Regions from separate parts of the Homo sapiens genome. Here regions 1, 2, 3, 4, 5 and 6 are each linked to region 7. The links are contacts of gene promoters, found by promoter capture Hi-C in blood cells and fetal thymus (Javierre and others, 2016). All regions are on one chromosome and are shown on one strand. The core of a region is centred on a gene start or on the middle of the fragment in contact, and the rest is flanking DNA. Distances in the headings are between cores, read along the strand shown. Region 1 has its middle 280 kb from the start of TET2. Region 2 has its middle 81 kb from the start of TET2. Region 3 overlaps TBCK (TBC1 domain containing kinase). Region 4 has its middle 170 kb from the start of TET2. Region 5 has its middle 230 kb from the start of TET2. Region 6 overlaps AIMP1 (aminoacyl tRNA synthetase complex interacting multifunctional protein 1). Region 7 holds the start of INTS12 (integrator complex subunit 12).

Region 1 (2,981 bases), core at 415-2,914, 850 kb before region 7:
GGCATCTTCTAAACTACCATTTACACGTATCAAGCCTAAGGGGTATGTGTTTGTTTGTTTGCTTATTTGTTTTAAAGAAGGCTTTATATCACAATGCCAATATGAAACTAGTTTACTCATTGCAAACATTATTTCAAAACATTTCACGAACCCAAGACAAAGCTTCTTCTAATGATATAGCTTTATATTTTTTTGTACAGAGCTTAATCACTATCTTGTTTAAAATTGTAAGCAACAGCCAGTGAGCATCAAACTTGGGTCCTCTCGATTATTTCTTAGAAGTCTCTGACTTACTGACCTCAAAATATATTATTTTCAAAGAAACTTAAGATCAGGAAAATGTTCTAACACTCTAGGTAATTATTTTGTTTCCACTCTAAATACTATCCCAAGGGTTAAATCTCTGTGACAGTTTTCTCCTAAGATATTTTCCACACAACTAAGGGCTCTAAACTTGTATTGCTATGCTAGAATATTAATCAGACACTCTACCTTCTAAGAATTCTTACAGAAAAGTTCAGGGAAAAAAATATTTTCCAGTATATTTGGGGGTCACCAAGTTTCCACCTAAGTGCTTAGAGGACATGGAACAGTTAACTCATACAGTACATGACTTGTTATTTTGTGGAATGTACTAAAATGATGTAGATATTATAATTCTTGCTCTGTGTTAGGGGTTTTAGAGAGGAAGTATTTCTCGATATAAGTTAACAGAATAATTATCAACGTCAGCAGTCAATATAAGCTCTCCAGCAGCAGCTAGACTATGGTCTCTTGGCGTGTTCTATTAGCTGGCCCACTCATGAGGTTCAAAGCTTTGCCAAGACTAGGAGGCCATTCTGTGTACAGATCAGTAGCCTGGCTCCATATAATGGTTGCCACAGCACCCCTCAACTCAACCCATTGTTCTGAAAATGCTATCAGTTAAATGCTATCCATAAACACTATCAGTTAAATACAAAAAAAAAATTGCAAGCTCTATTCTTATTCCATGTAGAGAAATTTGAAGAACATATTGTATTTATGTGAGTTCAGTGGTTATATTAATATGATGTTCCTTTCTTTTAAAACAAATAAAAAGCACCTCCATGATTAGGGTAAATTAAGGACAGGCATGCCTCAGAGATCTTGTGGGTTCTGTTCCAGAAAGCTGCAATAAAGGAAATATCACAATAAAGCGAGTCACATAATTTTTTTGTTTCCCTGCACACATAAAAGTTATGTTTACACTATATGGTAGTCTATTAAATGTTCAATAGCATTATGTCTAAAGAAACCATGTAAATATCTTAATTTAAAAATATTTTGTTGCTAAAAATGCTAACAATCATCTTAGCCTTCAGTGACTCTTAACTGTTCTGCCTGTGGAGGGTATTGCCTCAGTGCTGATCCCTGCTGACTGATCAGGGTAGGGGTTGCTGAAGGCTAGGGTGGCTGTAGCAATTTCTTCAAGTAAGACAACAATGAAGTTTGCTGCATAGATTGACTCTTCCTGTCACAAGAGTTTTCTCTGTAGAATGTGACGCTATTTGATAGCATTTTACCCACATAATACCTCTTTCAAAACTGGATTCTGTCCCCTTAACCTAGGCAGCTACTTTGTCAACTCAGTTTCTGTAATATTCTAAATCCTTTGTTGTTATTTCAACAATTTTCATAGCATCTCCCTCAGGTGTAGACTCCATCTCAAGGGACCAGTAGGTCTCAACAGTGGGCTTAAAATATTCAGTGAACCATTCTGTAAATAAATGTGCTGTCATCCAGGCTTTGTTCTGTTATTTATAGACCACTGGCAGAGTAAATTTAGCTTAATTTTTAAGGGCCCCAGGATTTTCAGAATGCTAAATGAGCATTAGCTTAAACTTAAAGTTACCAGCTGCATTAGCCCCTAATAAGAGGGCCAATCTTTGAAACTTAGAAACCAAACACTAACTTCTACTTCTATCTATCTAGGAAAGTCCTAGATGGCATCTTCTTTCAAGATTTTTCATCTTTCAAGGCTTTTATAACTACATTGAAAATCTGTTGTTTAGTGTAGCCATCTTCATCAATGATCTTAGCTAGCTAAGTCTTCTGGATAACTTACTGCAAATTCTCCATCAGCATTTGCAGCCTTATCTTATACTTTTATGTTACAGAAATGGCTTCTTTCCGTAAAACCTCAGAAACCAACTTTTTTTTGTGAGGTTTTCTTCTTCCAACTTCCTGCTAGCTTCCAATTTTTCTTCTACAGCCATTTCACCTCTATCCACCTTCACAGAATTGAAGAGAGTTAGGGCCTTGCTCTGGATTAGAATTTGATTTAAGGTAATGCTGTGGCTGGTTTGATCTTCTCTCCAATTAAAACTTTTTCCATATCAGCAATAATCTGTTTTGTTTTCTTATCATTCGGGTCTTCACTAGAATAGCACTTTTCCTTTAGAAACTTTTCCTTTGCATCCACAACTTGGCTACCATTTGACACAAGATGACTAGCTATCAGCCTATTTCAGCTTTGGACATGCCTTTCTCACTAAGCTTAATCATTTCTAACTTTCCACCTAAATTGAAAGATGCATGACTCTTTCTTTCACTTGAACACTTAGAAATCATTGCAGGGTTATTAATTGGCCTAAAATCAATATTGCTGTGCCTTAGAGAATAGAAAGGCCTAAAGAGAGGGAAAGAAATAGGGGAATGGCGGCCGGGCGCGGTGGCTCACGCCTGTAATCCCAGCACTTTGGGAGGCCGAGGCGGGTGGATCATGAGGTCAGGAGATCGAGACCATCCTGGCTAACAAGGTGAAACCCCGTCTCTACTAAAAATACAAAAAATTAGCCGGGCGCGGTGGCGGGCGCCTGTAGTCCCAGCTACTCGGGAGGCTGAGGCAGGAGAATGGCGTGAACCCGGGAAGCGGAGCTTGCAGTGAGCCGAGATTGCGCCACTGCAGTCCGCAGTCCGGCCTGGGCGACAGAGCGAGACTCCGTCTCAAAAAAAAAAAA
Region 2 (2,700 bases), core at 133-2,632, 640 kb before region 7:
ATTTTCTCTTCAGATGAGTAATCCTGGTTTGAGTTACCCATACAATTTCATAAAAATACATTATTCCAGATGGACTCCAGTTGCTGGGCAGATGGAAATGCTTAAGTAAAGGACTAAAAACTTCATTATCCTAAATTAGGTAGTCAGAGAGAAAAAGTATGAATATAACTATAACCCAAATAATTTTTAAGTTTTATGAATATTTTTAAAAATTCTACTTTCAGGAGAAAAGAACTTGAAAAATAATTACACATATTTAAGTATTTAAAAAGTATATACTTTTACAGTCAAGTTTTTAATCAATTAGTTGTAGCTACCATAATTATATTTCTCATAGTCACTTTCCATTTTTACATACTGAGCCAACCTGTCCATAAGCCAAGCTCAGGTTTATCTCATTCCTTCAGTTGATTGGACAGGATTTCCCCACAGGCACAGGTGCAATTTCTGTAAGCATCACTGCTGTGACTGTGATGGTTAATGTGGGAGTCTTGTCTACCTTCCCACATAGCTTACCTGTGCTCATTGTCATTGCATATGACATTTCTGGATGTACATTTCTATCTAATGAGAGACTGCTGCTCAGCCCATTCATATTTATGCTTTGGCCAGTCTGACAGAAGTTAGCTCATAATGGGCAGGACAATTGGTGTCCCATGGTCAAGAGCTCCGTCCCTAGCAGGATCTAATATTGTTCCAGGAGCTTCTTTGGACCTCTAAAAACTTCACTGAAATGACAGGTCTCTAAAACATCATGAGGTTTATCTCCCACACTCAGGCATTGCCACCTCTTACTGCAAAGGAATGAGCCACCTCTGTAAACTTTGAACATTCAGGGATGTATACAGAGCCAAAATCCTCTGGGGGAATCTACCCATTATGTCTTCATCCCATGTTTTAAGATCCTAGGTTTTCATCCATGGTCTGCCTTGGCTGAGCATGTAAGTATCTCTGATGCTCTGGAATTCTACTTGTCAAATCCTGGAGTCTGTTTTTCAGCTGTTCATTATTCCACTGCAGGGGAAAAGAGACCCTTCTTAAATCACCAGAGAGGTTCTCTAACTCTTGCCCTTAGCAGTAGTTTGTTAATGGTTCTCTGTTTCTCATTATCCCATTGCAGAGCATCAATATAACAGTAATGCCCAGCCAACACTCTGTCCTTGTGCTCCCCACCGCCATCTCTCTTTCAAATCCTTGAATCATTATAACTGCAAGGGCATTTTCCATTGGGATGTTTCCTCAAGTCACCCCTGATGAATTGTTCAGCGATTGGATTTTCACTTTGTGCCAGGGACTATCTAGGCCCCACATTCCTCTCATGATGCAGTCCTCCTTGCCTGTCGAGAAATGAGTGAGCCAGGCCCCAAGCTCCATCTTGCCACTTGACTTATCAGAACATGTTTGGTTTCTGCCATGTCAACTCAGGTCAACCCAGGAGGAGCTAACAAAACAGGATTACACATGTAAGATATATATTGGGGGAAACTCCTGTGAAAGATGAAGAAGGAAGGGGCAGGAGTAGAGAGGGCCTTCAGACCACAGTGAAGAATTGGCTTCTGTAAAAAGAGAAATAGAATGTTTGTAATCCTGGTCCAGACCATCTCTAACTCTGTAACTCTCCTATTTCCACATCTTTTGACCACAAAGTTGTTAGAAGAACTGGAGATCGATGTACATGGGAAGGCCCAGCTCAAGCTCTGTGCAGAGTGGGTCCTTAGCAACTGTTACGTTATGTGTTCACTGCACAGAACAGGGGAGTAATAAGCAGAGCCCTGGGTTTCCTTCAAAGAAATGCAGTGACCCTTATTTCATGTGTAGGCAGGTAGATATGGAGGCTGCCCCTCTCTGCATCTACAACAAGCCCTGTTTCTCATTAAAGTCAACGTTGAACACTATGTTTTAAATAACACAAGGAAGAAAACAGGATGCACTTATCTCCTTAGACATGACCTCAAAATGTATTCTTCTTTATAACTGTTATTACTAACTAAAATACATCCTTCCTATTCTTTCTTTGGAAAGAAGAAAAATAAGGCTTGTGATGGAAGGTAGGATAAAGCCAGCACATATTGAGTGATGATATGTGCCAGGTACTACTTTAGGTACTTTATGAATGTTTTCTTTCTTCATCCTTACACTCTTTGGAGTTAGAATTATCCACACCTTACATAAGAAAACAATCAAGGTTATAGAAATTAAATAACTTGTCCATAGTATTGCAGTTAATTATCAGAAATGACTATTGACTCTGAAACTTTGTATATTTCAGTTTTGCAAAAATCTTATCTGTGAGGTGGACTTTAATTCAAGAATTATAGAAATGTTTTGGTTGAAATAATTTTTTTAATAAAAAAGAATTTTTTCCTATGTTATGTATTTAAAATCTATAATGAATTTTGGCCCTATCTCTGTTAAAACCACATTGTTTTAAATACTTAGTTGCTCATAAATCTATTTCTCCTCATTATAAACCCTTGAGGGAGACTATTATATCTAATTCATCTCATCCTAACCAACTAAAATTAGGCCTAAATGTCATATGCACTCAATTTATGTATGCTGAGCCAAATAGGATAATTCAAACAACTCAGTTCATTTTTCTGCTAATTCTCCACTTACTCTGATACAGCAAATTAGAATGATAGAGAGGAAAACATATCCTCTTCTTTATTCCATGGGACCCATATCATAGTGGACAGC
Region 3 (2,840 bases), core at 172-2,671, 600 kb after region 7:
ATTAAGTTAATTAAAATATGTAATTAAAATATGTAAAACACTAAGAATATTGCCTTATATAAACGCTCAATAAATTTTAACGATTAATAATTATCATTACAAAAAAAATTTCTACTCAGTCTATAAAACACAAATATTCTCAGAGTAAATATTTTAAGAGAAATAAACCAGGGAACTTGAAAGTACAGTTTAGTCTATTTTCAGCAAAACAGTAAAGAAAACATTGTTTGCATTTATCAGGGTTTTTAATATTAGGTTGAAACACATAAAATTGCCACTTTTATAGGGAAAAAGTTGAATATCACCAACTACATAGGGTTTACTTTCAGATTTTTTTACGTCTACAAATTATTTTATGTTAGAAAAATTAAATACATTTCACTGAAATGCATTTAAAATATTTTTAAGAAATGCAACCTTACCCTGCAATTAAGCTTCCAAAAATAATTCTGAAATAATTAAAAATATTGCCACCATAAGAATCTTTAAGTGGAGAATGAAAGAACCTGATTACACTACTAAAAACGCAGTAAACATCTTCCTCAAACACTGACTTTTTAACCAATAGGGTTCAACTTTTCTAATTCAGTTCTCTAAATGGGCTGCTATATAAAAAGACTAATGGAGTTTAAAAAAAAAAATCTACTGACTCCCTTTTCATTTGAAGACAGTTGCCAAAATCATTACTTTCAATCATAAAATATATTGTTAGATAATTCTTCTAAAGTTCCTAACATTAGAACTTCATTTCCTTCATATAGATAAAGAAATATGTTTAAGAATAGACGGTTTCCCTGAAAAAGAAAATTAAAAATCCTGATTCTCAGATCTGAGAAACATTAATCATTCAAATATAGTTGTTAATTCATTCATTCAGCTAACAAACACTTATTGAGTGCTCTGAGGTCACAAGTAAAGGTCCTTATCCTCAAGAACTAAGAATCCTCAGAGGAGAAAAATTAAATAGAAAATAATAAAATGTGATAAAAGCTATAAAAGAACTTAGGAAAAAGACTTAGCTCAGATTGCAGGGAATGGAGCATAGCATAATCCATGAGAGAAAATTGCAAAGTACAAAATCAAGGATATGTGAATCAAAAAACCTCAAAGCAACTCAGCTTGGCTGGCATGAAGGGTTAAATTAGTGGAAACAACAAGCAATACATCGAAAGAGGACAGCACAGACTAGATCAAGGACTAGATGAAGGATTTTGTATGCAATAGCCTAGTAAAGAGTTTGAATTTTACCTGGTAGATTTGCAAGTAAATGGGGAAGTGTACGAGAGAGAGGCAGGGTGGGGGAAAAGGATGAGAGAAAGAAGGACATGTGTGCACTGGTACTGATGATAGCTTTATATATTTAGTGGATATAGTATTTATAACTTAGGGTAACAAAGTAGAGAACATAAATAGGAAAAAAAAGAAAATAACTTACCATGCTTTCCCCTAGAAATATCCACATACTGGCAGAGTCTGGGATGGGTGATGGTTTTAAGGATTTGAAAGCGCCCTAAAATTTTGATGGAATTTGGTGTGAGAGGAAGTCCATTGCTTCCACAAACATCATGTGGCAGAGCCGAGGCAAAGAAGGTAAAGGCTCCCATTTCAGCGTCCTTCAGGGGAAACATTTTTGGAGTCCTAGGTCTTCTAAGATAATCTGGAAAAGGAGAGAATTTTAGGACAGACCAAACATTAAGCCAGACAGACCAAATCTTAAGCATGATTAACATACAACTTGGAGGAAAATGCCAACCTGAACACTTCACAGTAAAAATATCAAAGTATAAGAAAATTCTAAAATATCAGAGGACAAAACAACTCAGCATAAATTTATATTGCAGCTCTAAATCAAACTCTAAGATTTTCAATGGCATAAAAAAGAAAAGATTATTCCATTCTCAATGACATTTGACAGTTTAAAGAGTAGAGGAAGTTTGTTACTGCATCTTCATATTATTAATAAGGCTCTTCTCTTTTTTTTTTTTTTTTTTTTTTTTTTTGAGACAGTCTCGCACTGTCACCCAGGCTGGAGTGCAGTGGTGTGATCTCCGCGCACTGCAACCTCTGCCTCCCGGGTTCAAGCAATTCTCCTTCCTCAGCCTCCCGAGTAGAGGCACCCACGACCACACCCAGTTAACTTTTTGTATTTTTAGTAGAGATGGGGTTTCACTATGTTGGCCAGGCTGGTCTTGAACTCCTGACCTCGTGATCCACCCGCCTCGGCCTCTCAAAGTGCTGGGATTACAGGCGTGAGCCACCACACCCAGCCAATAAGGCTCCTCTCTTTACCTAAAGATTGAATAACCCACACACCACTGACAACCTTCCTTCTCATACAGTGAGGTAGGTCAGGAAAGAGGAAATATAGGTACCAACTAGTAACGAATAGGGGACCTTATTAATAGTAGTAAAGCTTAAACTAGATTAAAAGAAGGCTCTATAATATTAAATAACCAATTTTCATTTTTATGCTAGATATTTTACATAATGTATGATCTGCTTTAATCCTTTTAATAATCCTGACAGAGCTATTGGCTCCAGTTTAGAGATAGTTGTTCCATGTGTATAGCATGAGGCGTCCTATTTGCACTTACTCCAAAATAAATGGTGCCCCAAAGTTGCGTAAAGTAGTAGCCTGGAGAGTAGGAAACTTGCTCCATATCAATCTGAATCACATTAAGGCAACCATAACAACAAAAAAAAGGGTCTTCTGACACAAAAATCTTTTACCCATGGACCTCACTAAGAAGACATTCTACTGGTAAAGCCCTGCATTTTTCCCTTCTCAGCTTAATGATAAATATGCTGGAATTCCAATTCAATAAATCCACTTTGACAAG
Region 4 (2,979 bases), core at 197-2,696, 740 kb before region 7:
TTCCCACCACTATCAACAGACTGTAGAAAATAGAAAAATACTGACTTAAAATACTGAAAGAAAATTAATGGTTTCTGGGAAAAGCCTGATATTCAGAAAAAAATAAGATGCTTTGCATGCAAATATTCTTGCTAAAAAATATAATTTTTCAGAAAAATTATAACTTTGCTGCCACATATCTGATGATGTAGAATTCATATTAAGCATTAAAAAGACACTTAAATTTAAATATCAAGGATTTCCATTTGCAATTCTAAGGTACAGGTAAAATTGTTTTTAGAATACTCCCATTCTCAAAAGAAAGGACCCAAAACAGCAAGATATTTTCTTATATCAAAAATTTTTAAATTTATTTTTTTATACTTGTAAACATACCCTTCACGTATAAAATTGAAGAAATTCCTGATTAGTTGATGCTGAATGTTAACCTATAGATAAAAATAAATACATTTCAGCATTTTAGTACAGTGAGAAGGGGAACTGGTATAGAGTTTGAATATAAAAATAGAACACAAAATTCAACCTAATGAATAAATGTGAAACAGGTCACTGTTTTCTGAATCACTTAATTTTGCCATCATTCACAAGCTAAACTGGCCATCCTTTACTTGATACTATGTAGACTGTGAATCCCCAGTGACTTTTAAATAAAGAGCTAGTTAGATTAATTTAGTTGAGCATCTTCTTGTCCTCACTGAGAATGAACTCCCTCTGCTCACAGGCATCTCATCATCATACAGCTCAACTTTTGTTCCTGTTTCTCTATTTGACCTGATTATTGTCTTACTTCACTAAACCTAGCTATCTTTCTTTCAAGTATCACATCTTCCATGCAGCTCTTCCAAACCGCCAAACTCTCTTTTCCTCTCTCTTGATCTTAGTAGCATCACAAAGCCACACCCAATGGGAAAGGAAGGTGGAAAAGCAGCTCCACTGGTGGGTTAGATATGTTTGTTTTTTTATGTTCATCCTGGCAATCACACCTGATGACAACACGAACATCATCTGGTGCCTGATAGCTATTCTCCTGCAGAGAAAATAAAGAGAAATATTTCCTATGTGCTGACTATATACAGATACTTCCTACATGTCATAATTAATGCACACAAAACCTGTTGGCTAGGGGCCATCCCTTAGATGATGTCTTTATGTTGTATCTTACTAAGTCCCCCATTACAAATCAGAAGGAGCATCAAGATGTCTCAATCTCCTACAGAAAAGAAAGGGTCAACATGCCATAAAATCATTGTCATTGGCAAACTTTCTCAAAATTCAATTAGTCACCATAAGATCATACCACATCACAAACCGGTTATGTGAGAATGCATATTATGGAATAGGCATGTCCAGACAGCATGATACTTAGAATCAGACTTTCCCAGGCGCCCTACAGAAATTTGTTTTTCTATGTCAAGAATGAATAAAACACATCTGCTTTAAAATTCTTCCAGACCAAAATAGTATTAACATAGCACCTATCAAATCTGAGAAAAATAACTGACAACAGTTGACAGACATATTAACCATTTATGTTCTAGCAATCTATTTATTCACGTTCCTGACTCTTACATTCTAGAAAGCAGTATACTCAGTCCTTATAGTCTCTAACATTAAATTTACATTTTATTGTTTGGTCCTCAACTTCTCAAAACACACTCCCAAGAAATCACTTTTGAAGTCGACTACCACAATTGCTATAAATTAGTAAGCTGGTTTACTCACTGCTCCAACAGCAACTCTGAGGTAAGTTTGGAGCTGAATAAAAGAAACTATAACAACACTCATTTTTGCAGACATATTTTCTTTGGCCTTGATTTTCTGTTTACATTTAGCTCAGTTGTTTAAAGTTACTTGTAATTATAAGTTCCCTTATTGCCTATGATAGTCATTATATACATAAATTTAATAAATAAATGCTCAGCACTATTATGTTTGTGTAACTGAAGTAATTATTTGTTTATTCTCTGCAATTCTATAAAAGGAAACATTCTAACACGCAAATCTTACTGTATCACTCCCTGGCTAAAAATCCTCCCGTGACTGCGACTAGATCCAGAATTAAGTCCAAGTTTATAAGTGTAATTTACCACTGCGTTTATAAAAGTACACAAAGCTCCTGTCTTTCTTTCCTGCTGTCTCAAGAAAGTTCCATCTCTAGACCTATTCTGGATCTTTTAGGATGTAGTCATCAGGAGGTTAGACAAAGAAAAGACCAGAGAATGAGAAAGACTTGGAGACATTAAGTAAACTTAATAAAGAGATAAGTGAAAAGGAAAGAGAGGGAGAAGGGAAAAGATGAGAGCTGAATGTCGCGAAAATACTGAAGGATTAAGAATTTACAGAGGTAGTTTTTAGGTGTTAGAAAATAGGAGGAATAGAAAATAGAAATTGGATAGAGGAAAGTGAGGATTTTTATATTTTTTGAGAAGTACAATTTTTAAGATTAGAGTTGCTTGATGATTTTTTGATTACTTAGACTGGGCTTTTTTAGAGGCCCCCCCCATAAAGAAACTGGGCTACGTGGGACTGTGGGATCTATTAGGATTATAGAAGTAAAATGCCCTAATCTTTTTCTCATTTGGCCACCATGAAAGCACTAATCCTTTTTTCACTGGGCCTCCTTAGCCCATCACACTCGCTCTGGCTCCAATACTTGCTGACAGTTTATAGAGGCCACCATGATTATTCTCACATCCAAGTCACTGCACTTGTCAAATATTGCTCTGTCTACCTAGAGCACTCACAGTCACTCCCTCTTTTAACACTAAAGTCTACAGTTTCTTCAACAATCAGCTTAGTTATTCTACAGGAAGCCTTTACTCCCACCTCTCTTACATTCTCAGTTAAGATCTGGTAGATACACATACAGGGAACACAGAGAAAGCACATGTCAGCTTTATCAGTCTGTTTACTTCAGACTCTCTCATTACCCTGAGCTTTATGAGAGCAAGATGGTAAAGAACAATAAAACAACAAACA
Region 5 (2,827 bases), core at 32-2,531, 790 kb before region 7:
GCAAAATTCACATCCTACTTAGTTAAGTGGACAAGAATCATCCCCATAAATTATTAAATTCCCTCCCATCTGGATATTTTATGTTAACCACAGTGAACATTAATATATTTTATTCAGTAATATATCTGTTATATATGAATGGTGATCTGCTAAATAATTTACTATTTATGGAGAACATTTTGATAAATTATTACTGTCATTATTGCAGAAATTAAACTATTCTTTAGAGTCCAATTTTAATATATTTTCAAGCATTTCTTGAACAGTAATTATTTTGTATCTATTATGTGTAAGGTGCAGAAGGAGATTTTTTAAAAAAATAAAAAACTATCACTTGTAAAATAATTACCAGTTGGTGGGTAGAGAAAAAATTTATTTTGACCAGAGTAAAATTTATTCTGACCACAGGCACAAGATTTTTAATGTACAAATCCCAGCTGTCAATACATGAAGTTTCCCTGAACCTTTTCACTTTTCTTTTGTTAAGAACTCTCATCCAGCATCTAGCAGGCGCTGGATTCCTACCGGCCCTGCAGTTTAGTTTTCCTACACAGTTAATAGTAATTAGCTATTGTCCTCATCATCACTTCCAAACATGCTATTAGTTTTCCAGTGGGCATTGATTCTGTAATATGCAATCTAACCTTCTAACCACTATAGCACAGAATAACCAGGGAATTATCCCCTAGGAAAACAGGAGTTCTTTTCACCTCTAAGTCAATGATCATTAAAAACAACCAATACACTGTGAAGCTTGACAAATCACAATGGGAATAGGGACCCAACAAATTGCAGTGGTGAAGTCACAATTATCTAGCAATTAGGTTTATAGCTGTATCCACCCTTTAAATAATCAAGTCTACAAATGTACCCACACTTCTTCCTGCAGAACTTAATCTGGAAGGTTTCTAAAGCTTTCTTTCTTATTCAGGTTTCTGAAAGCAATTGCATCTGAGTGAAGTAATAATGACAAACCTTATGAAGCAGAAAGAACAGTAATTCATTTACTTAAGACTAATTTTTAAAAGGGGAGAATAATTGCCAAGCTCTATTTCCAAATGGAATATGTTCTGAGTCATCATAAAAATTTGGCTGCCAGAAGAGTATCTAGTTTAGTAAATAATGAAGGTGAATGCCCAATGTTTTTGGAATGCTTTCAGCAACAGGTAACAAACAGGAAGCCTGACTACAGTGGCTTGAAAAAAATGAGAAGTATTTTTCTCCCATAATGAGAAATCCAGAGTTTAGCAGTGCTGGGCTGGTTCAGCAGATCAATGATGCCAAAGACTCTGAGATCACTTTACTTTGTCCTCACAATTACAAAAAAGCTGTTGTGGCTTCTACAATTATATCCCCTTTCCAACAAGAAGAAAGAGGATGTAGCAAGGAGAATGGGTGGTACCAATATTTGAAAGTAAAAGTTTTATTAGGAAGCTCCCAGGAAACTTCTGTGTATGTTTCTTTGGCTATAATTTTGCCCCGGAGCCAGTCCTTGCAGAAAGGTGGCTGGAGAGAAAAGAGATGCAGAGAGAAAAAGAAGAGCAGCTTTTGACATTTCAGAAACTGCAGCTATATAGCTAGGCCTTGATGTTGTGAAAAGCTAGCTATGTTCATAAATAGGCCTTGATGATATCCTGTTGAACATAAACAAGCTTCCAAATCACCAACATCAGTGACCATGATGAACTGAAAAAAAAAAAAGACCACTCTATAACCTTGTCTAAGCACATAAACAAGATCATTGTGCAAACCACAAAAATACCAAGCACCTTCATAGCCTGGCTAATATCAGTAGCTGCTGCTTCTTTCCCAGTTTGATTCTTTAGCCTCACTTTATTTTTCCCATATTATAGATAAGATTTTTAAAATAAGCAATCATATATTTACCCCCAATTCCTGATAGCATCCAATTCAGAGCAAAGCCACTTTCTTAAGCCCTCCCCAAAAATCACCTGAGACCAGATCCTGTAATAATCCTTCCAAACACCCTCTTACTGAAATGCCCCACATTTCCCATGGTGTGTGGTCTCCTTTCTTGCATCTATTAATAAGTCAGACTTGCTCGATTACAGGTATGTTCCTGGTGGTCTTTAGCTGGATGACATTAACAACAGATTGGATCAACCAAACCACAGTATTTGTCACACCTTTGTTTCATTCTAGTCTATTTATAATTAAAATGATGTGCCTTAATATGGCATGCTTCAAAATCCTTAGCTAGAAAAGTAGCCATGGTATACTGAACAGAGCATATGATGAACCATCAGGGGATAAACACTCTAGTCCACTCTGCCTAATTAGTTAAGTGACCCTGGGAAAGTCATTTAAAATGAGAGGAACTGACCTCACAATAATCCAAAGAACCCACTAACACTCACATGTCTGAGAAATGGCGTAAAAATAAAGCTCCAAGAAATTAAGTACATTTTCCTTCTATTTACATTTTGTAAGTGGCAGAACCAGGATTTGAACCCGGGCAGAGTCTAAAAGCTTTCCATTGTACCATGTTGCCTCAACAGGCCCCAGCTTCCTCTATGAACTGACTAGGTTGGTAAACCAGAACCAGAATCTAGTAATGGCCCTTTTCATTCACCAAAGATTCTGAATGACAATTAATAATATTTATATTTATTCTTTTTTAGTCCCACCAGGTCTGTAGATGAAAGGTGCAAGACTAATTCGAGGTAATGTGCGTTTATGGAGTTTTGATTTTTAGCAAGCGCTTTTCTACATAGCATAAATCATAGATTTGATCTATCATTTGAACATCCAAGTCAAATCAATTTTCAGTTCCCTGTAATTTAAAATATGACGACTTTACTTAAGG
Region 6 (3,008 bases), core at 152-2,651, 620 kb after region 7:
ACTTGATTCATAGAAAATTTAGGGTATAATAAGCATGCTTAAAAACACTTTGTGTTTATATATAAAGAATAGTTAAAAATCTAGACTCAAATAATTATTAATAGGATTTTTACTTATACAAATTTATGATAGGCCACTATAAAGTTCTGCAGGATGTGAAACAGTTCTTCATTTTGCAGGAGTATCCAGCATACTGCAGGACATCTGACATTCTTGGCTTCTGCCCAATAAATGCCAGTACTAACAATCAAAAATAATCCTACAGATTTTCAAAATCCTACCTACAAAGCAGTACCAACCCCACTGAGAACCATTATTTTTCTCTTATACTTTTGTTACCCCATTGCACACTTTTAACACATACATTATATTTTGAGCAAATCCTTGAGTTATTTCACTCATTGAATGTTTGATTAGCTTAACTCAGACTTTAGCAATATTCAGCTTCTTTTAAAAGGTAATGACTAAAAAGAAAGACATGAGAATAGTTTTTGCTTGTGTGGTAACATCTCAGAATTTTTTTAAAAATATATATATAATTTAATATAATGCTTCTCTTTTTTTTCAGCATCTGTTATTGACATTTTATCTTTTATTTTTAAAAATTTTTTTGAGACAGGGTCTTGCTCTGTTACCCAGGCTGGAATACAGTGGCACTATCTCAACTCACACTGCAGGCTCAATCTCCAAGCCTCGATCAGTCCTCCCACCTCAGCCTCCTGAGTAGCTGGGACCACATGAATGTACCACAACCCCCAGCTACTTTTTGTATTTATTGTAGAGATGGGTTTTGCCATGTTGCCCAGGCTGGTCTCAAACTCCTGGGCTCAAGTGATCCTCTTGCCTCAGCCTTTGAAAGTGCTGGGATTATGGGATTACAGGCATGAGCCACTACACCTGGCCACATATTGACACTTTTGTGCCAGCTTCTTAAGTTATTTGCCATTGCCTTTTATTATAGCCGCAATGCTGAAAAGGTGGTAATTTGATCTTAGTTAGCATCTTAATAGGAGCTAGGAAAATGATTCATAAACAAAGTCTTTCTGTTTTACTCTTATTTCATATATTTTCTCCCTCTCTCTCTCTCTCTCTTAAATAGCATGTTGTTTTAATAAATATTAAACTGGCATAAAGGCACTGGCCAAACATTTGGTTACACTAGAGCTAGTATTATCCTAGCTGTAGTTATACTGGCTGTCTTCTTTTCAAATAGTATTCATACAAAACCTCTTTTAAAAACATATTTTAACTGGATGTTCTTGATCCTAGTTTTGCAGGCAACTTTGAGGGAAGAGAAGAAACTTCGAGTTGAAAATGCTAAACTGAAGAAAGAAATTGAAGAACTGAAACAAGAGCTAATTCAGGCAGAAATTCAAAATGGAGGTAATTAAATATAGAAAATTTGAGTAATCCAGAAGTTAAGAAGTTGGCCAGTCACACCAACAGTGAGGAAAGAAGTAAGAATCTGTATCTAGGCAACTTGGACAACTTCATAACTTCTAAATGACTCAGATTTATCAATAAAATGGGGGCATGGATAGAACCTACTTCTTAGAGTATGAGAATTACATGAGTTAATTTGTATAAAGCATTTTGAAAAGTGTTTGGGGCATAGTAAGTTCATAATAAATGTTAGCTGTTCTTATTTGCAGGTTTCTCGGTTTAGTAATTGATTAAATGGGAATCATGCCTTTATTCTTTGATACCTCAATTATGGCTAAAATATGCCTAATTTTTTGGCAGCCATTTTATAGTCTCAGACAGTGGATATTTGATAGCCATATACAGTGAATTTTTCATTTAAAAAGAGTTCCCATTTGTGGTTCACAATTTCATATTTTTTGTCATATTTATTGGTTTAATATGAATGACATTATTTCATTTTCTGTCTCAGTGAAGCAAATACCATTTCCATCTGGTACTCCACTGCACGCTAATTCTATGGTTTCTGAAAATGTGATACAGTCTACAGCAGTAACAACCGTATCTTCTGGTACCAAAGAACAGATAAAAGGAGGAACAGGAGACGAAAAGAAAGCGAAAGAGAAAATTGAAAAGAAAGGTATTTTTGACCTTTAAGCATATTTAGCTCTTGACTGGATTATCAGAAAATGTCAAGTTTTGATAATGATAATAATAATAGTATCAAAAGTAAAGTTCAACTTTCATGAGCTAGGATAAAATTAGGAACAATATGATATTGGAACATAAAAGCTGGGTCCTAAATGGTGTGTGAATATTGACCAGATTAACGGGGTAAAAATGTGGCATTTTAGGCAGAGGGACTGGCATAAGTTAAAACAGACTGTAAAGGTTAAGTGTAGAAACCCATATGTAGTTTGGTATGGCTGAATTTTGGTATCTATTTGTGGTATAGTTTGAGAGAAGTCACAGATAGGAAACTAGCTTAGGACCAGTTGTGAAGATAGGAAAAGAACATTCCACCAGTCAAAACAGACTGTCTGAACTAAGATTTCAAGAATCCATGAGAACTAAAGTAGATAGAAATGTCACCATCCACTTAGGCAACAACCCTTGAAATTTAGTCATCAACCTTAACCTGTCCCTATTCCCTGTTCTTCATATCTAATTAACCAACAAATTCTATTATTCCTGTCCCCAAAACATACATAGACCCCAGCTCTGCTCTTTCTTTTCATTAGGTCCTACCTCAGTTCAGGTTTTCAACGATCTTTCATCTGAATTAATATTAAAGCCTCATCTTTTCTAGTTTATTTTTAGCCTTGCTGCTAAAGCTATTTATTCTAATTGTAAATCTGACTTCCTTTCCCCAGATATGTCTAAAAAGTTGCCTTTATAAATAATTATGAATATTTCTCATTATACTTAAACTTATTTACTTTTTTTTTTTTTTTTTGGAAAATATAACATGCAGAGGGATTTATGAACTAACCCAAGCCAATTTAGCCTCTAAAGCACTTGCCAGTTCCTTTGGCAAACATCAGTAACCTCTGTTAGTTAAAAGTAGGTAGGGGCTGTACAGCCTC
Region 7 (2,947 bases), core at 323-2,822:
TCTTATTTTTTTTGTCCAGGAAGCTCTTTACCTATTTTTATATATCTACATCCTATCAAGACCCTATTCAAATACTTCTCATGAAGATTTGACTGACAGCTGCTGTGCCCCTCTCCATTCCAAACCCTATTAATAGTCTCTCCATTCAAGGATATCTCATAGTGCTTTTTCATGGTATTGCAACTTTCTCCCTTGAAGCATTTTTTTTTTTTTTTGGCACAAGTGTTATGTCCCCTACAAAACTCTGAGTACTTTAAGGGCAGAGTCTATATTTATCTTTTTGCCTATCTCTTTGCCACTTTGCAAAGTACAACAAAATAATGGCTATAGAATTACTGGAATTAAGTGATCAAAGTATAGTGGTCTTATCTCTCCTTCTACACAATTGTAGCCATTTCCAAGGTCCCTTCAGCAAAAATCACAAAAGTAACTCACCCCTGCCCCCACAAAAAAAACTCCAAACATCAAAAAAGCAAAAGCAAAGCAATCACCTCTTTCACGACTGGGGACTTGTAGTACAATGTTCCTATCTGTAAAATTCTCACAATCTTTCGCCTGTCTTGCTTAATTCATTAATCCCACTGGTCTGTAAACTTGATGACAGCAGGAACTTGTTTTGTTCACTGTTATTTCCCTAGTGCTTGAAACTTAATAAGGGCTCAAAAATATTTATCGAATGAACGAACTAGGTTTTTTGCGTAAATGTCACCTTATAAGGCTTCTGTGATCTCTCCAGTCTAAATTGGGCATTCATATATAAATATAAGTATGTGCTTTCTCCTAGATCCATTTTTCACCCTACCTGGCAATCTCAAAAGAAGTCCAAAGTTGATCATATGCACGTGCCCCAGATGAAGGAAACAGAAACTGTTCACATAGAGTGCAGTATTATCGTTGCCATTTCATAATGGCTCTAAAAAACTTTGTTCTTCATGACTTCGCAAGCTCTTGCAACCCCTTCCAATAAACATTATTTTAAAGATGCTGCCTTTTTCATTCCTCCACTGAGTTCTTGGTTCTGGATAACACTGATACCTTAGGGACACCTGGAATCGCAGGAGAAAAGGCTCCGATTCCAAACCAATCAAGTGGCTGAAAGCTGACAGCAAACACTTAGAAAAGGAATGTCAATCCTTTGATCAAAGCATCACACATCGAAGTCCTAGAATGGGGGATGGTCCTTGACAGGGGAGCCAAAAGATGAGAGACAATGAGGGAGCTACGTAGAGAAGTCACTAAAACCCTCCGACAAAGTCCGAGGCAGGATTCCAAGTCCCTTGTCCCTAGACCTAGAAATATGCTCGGTCCGCATGTCCCGGCCCGCAACTCCCTCGGAGGAAGCACAGTCCTCACTGAAAGGGGAGAGCAGTCAGTCTAGGGCACGCAACCGCCCGTAAATTATGATTCCCCTTGAGGAGCGAGGAAACTAATACCCCACGTAGCTACTCTCCCACCTCGCTCCTGGCGCGGGGGTCTCGAGCCTCCAGGAGGCCAGGAGCAGAGTCGCTCAGCATAACTCACCGTTCCGCCCCGCCCTGCCGATCCGTCTGTTCCCGGTGGTCCCTTCGGAAACGGTTCCCGCACTGGCCGGCTCCGAAAGCAGGAAAACAAAGGTTCCCACAGTAGGGGCGGGGGAAACGTTTGGCAGTGCGACAGTAGGAAGTGACGTTACTTCCCTTTTTCCGGTCCGCCGGATTATGAATGACGGCCGGCGCGAGTATTTTCCACATAAGGTGGCTGTCGTTTTTCTCCTGGCGTCTGTGGAGGCGAGTGGTCTGCGGGCAGCAGCTCCCAGAGGCAGCCTTGGAATTCCAGCTCGGACTGGGCGGGAAGGCGCAGGCGGCCCAGGTCGCCGACACGCTCACGCACCCTCCCTGCCTGGCCGCGCCTCTGCGACCAGGTAAAGAGGGCGCTCGGGCCGCCGGCTTCTCAGCCTCCGCGACCCCCTAAGAACTGGTCTTTTCTTCGGGGGTCTGCAGGGCTGAGGATGCGGGGGAAGGGTGGGAAGGACAAGGGCGTGGTATCATCGTCCTGATTTTTCTCCCGCCCTGGGGCCGCCTCAAACTCCTTTTTGGCCACTCCTGCTGAAGGTGCGGGTTGAGGGCTCTGGGCTTCTCGGTAGTACGCGTTTCCCAGTTTCCCCCTAGCCAGTCCCTCATGTCTTCCTCTGCTGATGGAGAAATGGGGCAGCTTCCAGTTGGAGGCGTTGGTTGGGGTGGTTTGATATTTGCTGTTAAGTGTTACTTCAAGACCTCTTGGGTCACACTAACTTCTCTTCTCTCTTTGGCATTGAGTTTTCCATTCCAGCCCTTCCTGATTGCAGAAAGCAGTTCTATGTGAATACTACTTAACATTTACTCCAAAGGACTTGCTTCATTTGGGGCCATTTGCTTATGTTTTGTCATCACAGCAGTATCTCTTGGGTTTTTAACTTCTATAGAAAGTTTAATTTGCATGAAAGTTGCTTTGGTTTCAAAAACGTTTGCTAATACACGTACTTCCCATCCCAACTTTCTACCTGGTTTTGGGATGAGATGACTTGTTTTTTTCCCCTTTATTCTTAATGCCAGGATCCCATTCCTTGTCATAAATTCTTGAATATCAAGAAAATGCCAGCTTTAGTAATATATTGTGTGCTACATTATTGATAAAGAAGGTGGTGTATTTCTATTTTACCTAAGCTTATCTGTAAAAACAATGTTTACAGGAGAAAATGCAAAAGCTAGCAAGAACTAGTGATGTGATAATTTTAAACATGTAAACATAGTCATTTAAATCCATGATAATAAACTGTTATAACACAACTAAGTGATTCGCTGTCATATTTAATAAACATTAAGCTATGCGGGTTTTTTTTTCTTTTTTTTTAACTGCCTGATGGGGAGCATACACCACTGAGAGGATTGCTTTAAGCACACTCATTACTAAAAATTGTGTTTGTATTACA

Evidence for each region. The method cuts DNA at HindIII sites, captures the fragments that hold promoters and counts their contacts. A CHiCAGO score of 5 or more calls a contact.
Region 1: a fragment that was not itself captured here is called in contact with the fragment with the promoter of INTS12 in region 7 in 1 of 17 cell types (monocytes); the score reaches 5.2 in monocytes.
Region 2: a contact is called between a fragment that was not itself captured here and the fragment with the promoter of INTS12 in region 7, in 1 of 17 cell types (total B cells). The highest score is 5.1, in total B cells.
Region 3: a fragment that was not itself captured here is called in contact with the fragment with the promoter of INTS12 in region 7 in 4 of 17 cell types (total B cells, activated CD4 T cells, fetal thymus and 1 more); the score reaches 6.9 in total B cells.
Region 4: a contact is called between a fragment that was not itself captured here and the fragment with the promoter of INTS12 in region 7, in 1 of 17 cell types (naive CD8 T cells). The highest score is 5.6, in naive CD8 T cells.
Region 5: a fragment that was not itself captured here is called in contact with the fragment with the promoter of INTS12 in region 7 in 2 of 17 cell types (total CD4 T cells and total B cells); the score reaches 5.6 in total CD4 T cells.
Region 6: a contact is called between a fragment that was not itself captured here and the fragment with the promoter of INTS12 in region 7, in 1 of 17 cell types (fetal thymus). The highest score is 5.4, in fetal thymus.

Annotation. Positions count from the first base shown.
Region 1 is chr4:104,860,775-104,863,755 of GRCh38, forward strand. No RefSeq gene overlaps it. Among named protein-coding and RNA genes, the nearest start is that of TET2, 280 kb to the right of the region's middle. The HindIII fragment of the contact is 1,702 bases long and covers 814-2,515 here.
Region 2 is chr4:105,064,030-105,066,729 of GRCh38, forward strand. No RefSeq gene overlaps it. Among named protein-coding and RNA genes, the nearest start is that of TET2, 81 kb to the right of the region's middle. The HindIII fragment of the contact is 6,862 bases long and covers 1-2,700 here.
Region 3 is chr4:106,307,333-106,310,172 of GRCh38, forward strand. It overlaps TBCK (TBC1 domain containing kinase), which reads right to left. Exons shown (of 26, transcript NM_001163435.3): 2 at 1,436-1,657. The coding sequence starts at 1,628. Among named protein-coding and RNA genes, the nearest start is that of TBCK, 7.5 kb to the right of the region's middle. The HindIII fragment of the contact is 1,979 bases long and covers 433-2,411 here.
Region 4 is chr4:104,970,420-104,973,398 of GRCh38, forward strand. No RefSeq gene overlaps it. Among named protein-coding and RNA genes, the nearest start is that of TET2, 170 kb to the right of the region's middle. The HindIII fragment of the contact is 3,428 bases long and covers 1-2,979 here.
Region 5 is chr4:104,918,535-104,921,361 of GRCh38, forward strand. No RefSeq gene overlaps it. Among named protein-coding and RNA genes, the nearest start is that of TET2, 230 kb to the right of the region's middle. The HindIII fragment of the contact is 738 bases long and covers 913-1,650 here.
Region 6 is chr4:106,326,182-106,329,189 of GRCh38, forward strand. It overlaps AIMP1 (aminoacyl tRNA synthetase complex interacting multifunctional protein 1), which reads left to right. Exons shown (of 7, transcript NM_001142416.2): 3 at 1,270-1,383; 4 at 1,895-2,062. Among named protein-coding and RNA genes, the nearest start is that of AIMP1, 11 kb to the left of the region's middle. The HindIII fragment of the contact is 5,734 bases long and covers 1-3,008 here.
Region 7 is chr4:105,707,117-105,710,063 of GRCh38, forward strand. INTS12 (integrator complex subunit 12) reads right to left here and starts at 1,573. Exons shown (of 8, transcript NM_020395.4): 1 at 1,522-1,573. It overlaps GSTCD (glutathione S-transferase C-terminal domain containing), which reads left to right and starts at 1,668. Exons shown (of 12, transcript NM_001370181.1): 1 at 1,668-1,900. LOC124900747 (a long non-coding RNA gene) reads left to right here. Exons shown (of 2, transcript XR_007058214.1): 2 at 785-980. RefSeq lists an enhancer at 1,648-1,897. The HindIII fragment of the contact is 4,662 bases long and covers 1-2,679 here.